2 separate regions of the Homo sapiens genome follow, and region 1 is linked to region 2. Evidence: promoter capture Hi-C in 16 types of primary human blood cells and fetal thymus (Javierre and others, 2016). All regions are on one chromosome and are shown on one strand. The core of a region is centred on a gene start or on the middle of the fragment in contact, and the rest is flanking DNA. Distances in the headings are between cores, read along the strand shown.

Region 1 (3,871 bases), core at 754-3,253, 970 kb before region 2:
GAGCCTGGTCAGGCTGTTTTCCCACCCTCTACTTCCCCTTGTCCTGGCCCATGTCCACCCTTCTCCCTGCCCATGTCCACCATTCTCCCTATCCCAGCCTCACTCTGACTCCTGGCCCCAACCCTGACCACTCTCCATGCCTCAGAGTCTCACCCTCAGCCTAGCCCTGCCAGCAGGCCCCATCTCCTCCTCTGACCTCAGCCTTGTCTCCGCCTCACACCCCAGGTGCCTCCAGCACCTAAGCCTAGAGTAAGGGGCTCCCTTCTCATCTTTCCTCACTCCTCACAATTAAGGAAACTCCATGGCTAGTGTGCATACCACCCGGGCTGGAATGCACCAAATGTCAAGTCAAAGGGGGTAGGACACAGGGAACCCTGCCTGGCGAGAAGGGGAGCTGAGCTAGGGCTGCTCCCGGACTCTGCCAGCAGAGGGCGCTGCAGCGCACCCCCCCTCCCCCCCCCCCCCCCCGCCACCCGGTGCCTGGCAACGGGCATGGGCCACGGTAGTGCTGGTGGTGCTGGTGGTTTAAGCTCAGGCAGCTCAGTCCTTTCTAAAGTGCTATGCGTGCTTCCTGTGGTATGGGAGATAACTGTAGATACGAGGCACGTGGAGAAACATTTTTTTAAAATGTTAAACCTTTTATATTTAGTTTAACATCTGTTAGAAACAATACAACCAGGCCATGCGCGGTGGCTCACACCTGTAATCCCAGCACTCACTTTGGGAGGCCGACGCGGGTGGTTCACTTGAGGTCAGGAGTTCGAGACCAGCCTGGCCAACATGGTGAAACCTGTCTCTACTAAAAATACAAAAATTTGCTGGGTGTGGTGGCCCGTGCCTGCAATCCCAGCTATTCGGGAAGCTCTGAAGCAGGAGAATTGCTTGAACCTGGGAAGAGGAGGTTGCAGTGAGCCGCGATTGTGCCACTGCACTCCAGCCTAGATGACAAGAGTGAAATTCCGTCTCAAAAAAAAAAAAAAAAAAAAAGGAAAAAGAAAAAAAGAAACAATACAACCAGCTCATCGAAAGTCTGATTTCTGGCCAGGTGTGATGGCTCACGCCTGTAATCCCAGCACTTTGGGAGGCCAAGGCAGGTGGATCATGAGGTCAGGAGATCAAGATCATCCTGGCTAACACAGTGAAACCCTCTCTCTACTAAAAATACAAAAAATTAACCGGGTGTGGTGGTGTGCACCTGTAGGCCCAGCTACTCGGGAGGCTGAGGCAGGAGAATTGTTTGAACCCGGGAGGCAGAGGCTGCAGTGAGCTGAGATTGTGCCACTGCACTCCAGCCTGGGCAACAGAGTGAGACACCATCTCAAAAAAAAAAAAAAATTGTGATTTCTGGGATCTAGTTGCTCAGAATGATGCTGAAGTGGAATTCTTTAAAGATCCACTTAGGACAAATAGTAAGTAACTCCACACTCGGAAGGGACACAGGTAGAGGAAAACTTATGACTGTGGAAGTGAATGGCCTGTTAATTTGGGGAAATACTGGGTTACCAGTGGACTTAGGGTGAGCTCCACAGCTAAGGATAGGGCCCAAGTTAGAACTGGGGTAAGGATGGGGTGGGCTTAGAATCGGGGTGAGGGTTAGAGCTAAAGTTCAGGGGAGGCCCCAGGTTAGGATTTGGGATTAGATCAGATGGAGGGGCACATTTGGTGCTTAAGGTTGAGAATAAACCTTAGGAATTAGGAATTGAGTTAGAATTGGGGTGAGTTAGGAATTTAGTTAGAAATGGAGTTAAAGTCACTCTTCAGGCCACAAGTCTTTGTGACTTTAGTAACTGAAAAGTCCATGGAACTGTGAACAGATGGGCAGGAGCTTCTCGACCCCCTAATAGGCACCCCAAGTTCAATCTGCCTTTTCCCCCAAATCCTCTTCTAGAAGCACCTGGCAGGGGCTCTGCCTGAGCTCACAACTCCAACAAGGTCAATGTACACCAATCGGATTGGAGGGACTGAGGAGTGGGCAATCCTGCCCAGGAGGGAGAGCATGGGACAACCAGGTAAGACAACTGGGTACCAGACACGATTTCACCATTTAGCACAAGTAACCTTTAATCTTCCCAACTGTCCTATGTGGTTACAGCCCATCTTCCTCCTACAGAGGAGCACAGCAGGGCAGCAAGGCTGAGTACCTCGTCAGGGTCATTAAACTTGTATGTGGCAGAGCTGGGATTTGCCTGCGGGGAGCCTGTGTCTAGACTGGCACCATCTGTGGCCTACATCATGGAGCGCATGGCCACGTGTTGGGGGACAGGCTGCCTGGTCTCTCCTTCTCTCCTTTCTGTGCTCTCCTGAGTTGTCAGTCTCAGGTGATGCAGAAGGCAGGTCTCTGGAAGCTACCCCCACCTTCTCATCCCTGTGCTTGAACTTTCATTTTAATTTTTTCATTTAGGGCAGTGTTTCTGGACCTTTTTATAATTATTATTATTGTCCTCTTAAGGAGCATTTTTAGCATCTTTTCCCAATTGTGCCTCCCTGTATGAAATTTTAATACCATAGATACACTGTACATTCCATAGGATTTTCTAGATACAAGATCGCATCATCTGCGAATAGAGATGGTTTTACTTCTTCCTTACATGGACATATGTATGGACTGTGAGCCTTTGGAGGGTCAGAAACCATGGTAATAGCCAAGATGGTCAACTGCCCTTCCTCCCCTGCCTTTTCATCCTCTGTGGGGTGATAATGCCTCTGTTGAGAATGCATGATTTAGGGTAAGGCCCCACCCCGTTACAATGTAGGTAAGAAGTGGTCACGGGAAGGAGTGGGTGGGATGCGGGCTGCACCTCTATGTGGGTGGAGACTAGGTGGGCCAGATGGAGGGAGATGGAAGGGAATGGAGATCCAGGTTTCTGAGAACACACTCGCCTGTAGTGGCCTTGGTCCTGGTCCCAGGCACAGGCACAGGCTGAGCCTGGGGCTAGGGGAGGAATGGGGCCAGTACCGTCACTTATTTTTGTCTCTGAATCCAGATGTCAGCTCCAGACCCGCTGGACCTGAATAAAGCAAATACCTGTGGAGACTCTGTTGAGAGAAGAGTCTAGAATTTCAACAGATTCTCCCCATACTAAAAGCAAACAAACAAAAACAAAATGAAACAACCAAACAAACAAAAACAAAAAACAGGAAGTTTGGACGTCTCTGTTCACCCTTACAAAATGCATTTGCTGTCAAGTGAGGGGAAAATTCCTTCATTCTTGGCTCAAGGAACTTCCTTAAACTAAGACCAGCTGCCTGGACTGTGCTAAATTCAGTTTATAAATATTATAAATATCCCAAACTTGATAGCCAAGCACATTACAAAAGCTAGCTAGCTAACCGCAGAAATTTTCCAAAATGCTAGCCAGTCAGACAAGTATGAGATATTGTGAAATCCTGTGTTGCTTGTCTGATTTCCTGAAATCATTCCTCTCAGACTGAGTGCAGAAGGCCTGGGGGTGGAATTCAGGAGCACTGACTATCTCCTACAGTTCTAGAGCCTTAAAGCCCTGGCCGACCCCAGGGTGGATTGATTGCACAGTAAGTCAGACCAACCAGCTGGGCGCAGTGGCTCATGCCTGTAATCCCAGCACTTTGGGAGGCCGAGGCAAGTGGACCTAGGGTCATGAAGAAGGTGGAGGCACTGAGGCCCTGAGTGATTTTATAAAGAACACCTTAGCAAATATCCAGCACTATGGGTTCACCTTCACTCAGGACCCACAAAGCCCCACGTTCTGACAGATTTTGTTTATCAGACAAATTGCACTTAGTCATGCTTCATTCATTTTTCTCGGAGACTTCCCAGGTTACATAGACCTGAGATAATCTCCCCATCTCGCCGTCACCCCCCACGAAGTCACTCCATGTTTCTGTTTGCAAT
Region 2 (3,721 bases), core at 59-2,558:
ATCTAACCTCCTGGCTGTCCTTCAAGATTCATTTCAAGTCACTCCTTCAAGAAGGCTTTCCTGCCTAGAGGTGTTGCTTCCTCATGGAGGATCTTACCCTGTCATTTTCTGTGTCCCTGTTTGTCTCAAGAACAGGGACGCATCTGATTTATCTCTGTATCCTGTGCACCTAAAATAGAAGAGGCTTGGTAAATATTAAGTGCCACGAGCCCTCTTTTACTAAGGACCTGCCAACATGGGCCCCATTCACACTAATACCATGAAGATAGCCCTTTTCTATACTTCGTCATAAAAAAGTAATACACACACCCGGGCAGCAACTTCCACACAAACAACACATGTGCAAGGAGATCACCATTATTTCCAGCAAAATGCTCCCCAGGGCCGAGCGTGGTGGCTCACTCCTGTAGTCCCAGCACTTTGGGAGGCCAAGGTGGGCGGATTGTTTGAGCCTAGGAGTTTGAGACCAGCCTGGGCAATAGAGTGAGAACCCGTCTCTACAAAAAATACAAACATTAGTCTGGCATGATGGTGCACTCCTGTAGTCCTGGCTACTCCATAGGCTGAGATAGGAGGATGGCTTAAGCCCAAAAGGTGGAGGTTGCAGTGAGTGGAGATAGCACCACTGCGCACTCCAGTCTGGGTGACAGAGCCAGACCCTGTCTCAAAAAAAAAAAAAAAAACAAAAAAAAAAACAGCTCCCCAACAAGATAGCAGGCTACAACATGCATGTGATGAAGCTGATTTGAAGCGCTCAGTGAGAGGTATCTGCATCAAGTTGCAGGAGGAGAAGAGAGAAAGGAGAGATAATCATGTTCCTGAGGTCTCAGCCCTGGATCAGGAAATCATTGAAGTATTAACATATCCTGACATTAAGGAAATGCTGATGTTTTTGGACTTTGGCAGTCTGTCCAACCTGCAGGTCACTCAGCCAACAGTGGGGATGAATTTCAAAACGCCACGTGGAAGCTGTTTGAATCTTTTTGAGATACTGTAATATTTTCAATAAACCTGGGACAACAGCAAAAAAAAAAAAAAAAAAAAAAAGGCCCCAAGCAACAAGCAGTGTGTGTGGGGCTGATAGGAGTGAGGAAAGGAGGTCGGACAGTTATGCCAGCCCCTATCGAGAGTCCCAGCAATACAAAGAACAGGGCCAGGGTTTGCTCCAGGATTTCCCCAGTGGACTACAACTCCCGGAAGGCAGAGAAGTGGACTACAGCTCCCAGAAGGCTGCGCGACATACAGCCAGCCCGGTGCTCTCGTGAGGCGTGCCAGTCAGATTCCGCGGGAGAGCGGCAGAGATACCGCGATATTTGGGAGCGGCCCCGAGACGCGCCTGGCGCGGGTGAGCAGTGGAAGGGGGCTGGGAAGCTGGGTTCTCGCGGCGGCGCGGGAGGGGAGGTTCGGGGAGCTGTGTCCGCGAGCGTGGGTCCACGGCTGTCTGTGTGTGTCCTTATTTTCCCCTGTGTGCCCATGAAGCTCTGTTTGCGACTGTGCGTGGGTAGGCGGCCGTCCATCTGTGCGACCTCACTTTCCCGGCTGTACGGGTGGGGCCGCCTGGAGCAGGAGGGACCCCCGAGCCCTGAGTGGAGGGTTTGCATCTGTACCCGTCCAGCCCGACTTTGTGCTGCTCTGCGATTATTTGTCCAGTGTCGTTTAATCTAGTTTAAATGATGGCCGTGTCAGCTCCTCACACTGAACGCTTACCCGGGCTGCCCAAAGTACAAAGTGTATTTAAAAAGTTGGTAAAATTAAAAAAGGAAAGCCATGGGATGTTGGAAGTAGCCCTAGGCCTGCCAAAAAGTGCTGAGTGCTATTTAAAAATTAGGCCAAATCTTGTCAGAAAAGAACTTCCTGCTGTCCTTGAAGTATTTGGAAGCAGGTGCTAGATGGTGAGCAGGAGAGGTTGCCAAGTTGGGGAAGTGGTGGTTGTCCTGGAGCAGGGGTTTCCACATCTCTCACAGTGGCTGGGAAGTAGCAATTCGCAGTCACTGCCTTTCTAGTAGCCCACGTGTGTGAGTGTGTGTGTTAGATACATTTATCCCTCAGTATCCGCAGGGGATTGCTGTATACTTTTTTTTTTTGAGACAAGGTCTCATTCTGTGACCCAGGCTGGAGTGCAGTGGCAGGAACATGGCTCACTGCAGCCTCGACCTCCTGGGCTCAAGGGATCCTCCTGCCTCAGCCTCCTGTGTAGCTGGAACCACAGGCATAAACAACCATACCCGGCTAATTTTTATTTTATTTCATTTTTGTAGAGACAGGGTCTCACCATGTTGCCCAGGCTGGTCTCAAACTCCTGGCTCAAGCTATCCTCCTTCCTTGGCCTCTCAAAATGCTGGGATTACAGGTGTGAGCCACCACATCACCCTCCTGTATACTCTTTTTTCTTTTCTTTTTTTTTTTTTGAGTCAGGGTCTCACTCTTGTCTCCCAGGCTGGAGTGTAGTGGTGCAATCATAGCTCACTGCATCTTCGAACTCCCTGGGCTCAGATAATCCTCCCACCTCAGCCTCCCAGGTAGCTGGGACTGCAGGCACGTGCCACCACGCCCTCCATATAATTTAAATAATCTCTAGATTACTTATAAAACCTGATACAGTGTAAATGCTATGTAAATAGCTACACACTTTTTTTTTTTTGTGGTACTATTATTATATTTTGAAATGGTCTCTCTCTGTCACCCAGGCTGGAGTGCAGTGGCACAAACATGGCTCACTGCAGCCTTCTAGGCTCAAGCGATCCTCCTGCCTCAGCCTCCCAAGTAGTTGAGACCACAGGCATGTGCCACCACACCTCACTAACTTTTAAATTTTTTGTATGGGGTCTTGCTATGTTACCCAGGCTGGTCTCGAGTACCTGGGTTTGCTCAATCCTCCCACCTTGCCCTCTTAAATTGCTGGGATTACAGGTGTAAGCTGGAGCAGAAGCCTGGGCAGCCGGTAGTGAGGGGCTTTGATGTTAGGCTAAAGGATTCAGGCTCATAATGGATCTTGGATCCCTGCCTACCCACCACCCACTTCCCTTGTTTGGTTCTGCTTTGTCTTAGGCTCAGTTCTCATCCTTCCTGTATTGAGCTTGAACGTATACCCTGTCTGGCCTTGCTTTCCTTGCTCTGTCTTTAGTCTGGTTCTGTGCCAGCTCCACCTTTGCCCATATAGGGACTGGCAGGTATCCCTGAAACCTAAAACTCTGCCCTGAATTAAACTCATCAGAGGAGACTTAAACATCACAAGCTGAGGCTCTTTGCTCTGTCTGTCCCTGTCTTTCTGGAGGATAGAGAAGCTGCCATTTTTCTGGCTGTGGCTTACCTGCTTGGCTAGTGCCCTGGGATCTTGAGGCTCAGTAATCAAAGCGTGTAGCCCTATAACCTGCCCACTTGCCAACTCTTTTTGCTGCTCAGGAGTTCCTGTGAATTCAGCAGAGCCCGGGGAAGTCAGGTACTACAGCTACCTGTGCAAATAGGTGACTCCAACAGGTTCTGGTTACAGTAATAGACTTACTGGTTTGGAATTTGATCCTCTTTGCAAGCAAATGAAGGAATCCTGCCAGCCATCACCCTTCCTGGAATTCTCAGGTTGAACTGATTGGACCTCGCCTCCAAATGTTGGTTAAATGATCCACTTTCTATTCTTCAAGTATATTAAGCACACACATACACACACACACCCTCTTTTTTAGGAAGGTAGGTAGGTTTGATCCTTAGCACAGCTTTGCTAAGC

Evidence for each region. The method cuts DNA at HindIII sites, captures the fragments that hold promoters and counts their contacts. A CHiCAGO score of 5 or more calls a contact.
Region 1: a contact is called between a fragment that was not itself captured here and the fragment with the promoter of PPCDC in region 2, in 1 of 17 cell types (total CD4 T cells). The highest score is 7.9, in total CD4 T cells.

What each region holds. Positions count from the first base shown.
Region 1 is chr15:74,048,135-74,052,005 of GRCh38, forward strand. No RefSeq gene overlaps it. Among named protein-coding and RNA genes, the nearest start is that of GOLGA6A, 32 kb to the right of the region's middle. RefSeq lists an enhancer at 144-353. The HindIII fragment of the contact is 4,250 bases long and covers 1-3,871 here.
Region 2 is chr15:75,022,282-75,026,002 of GRCh38, forward strand. It overlaps PPCDC (phosphopantothenoylcysteine decarboxylase), which reads left to right and starts at 1,309. Exons shown (of 6, transcript NM_021823.5): 1 at 1,309-1,345. The HindIII fragment of the contact is 7,713 bases long and covers 1-3,721 here.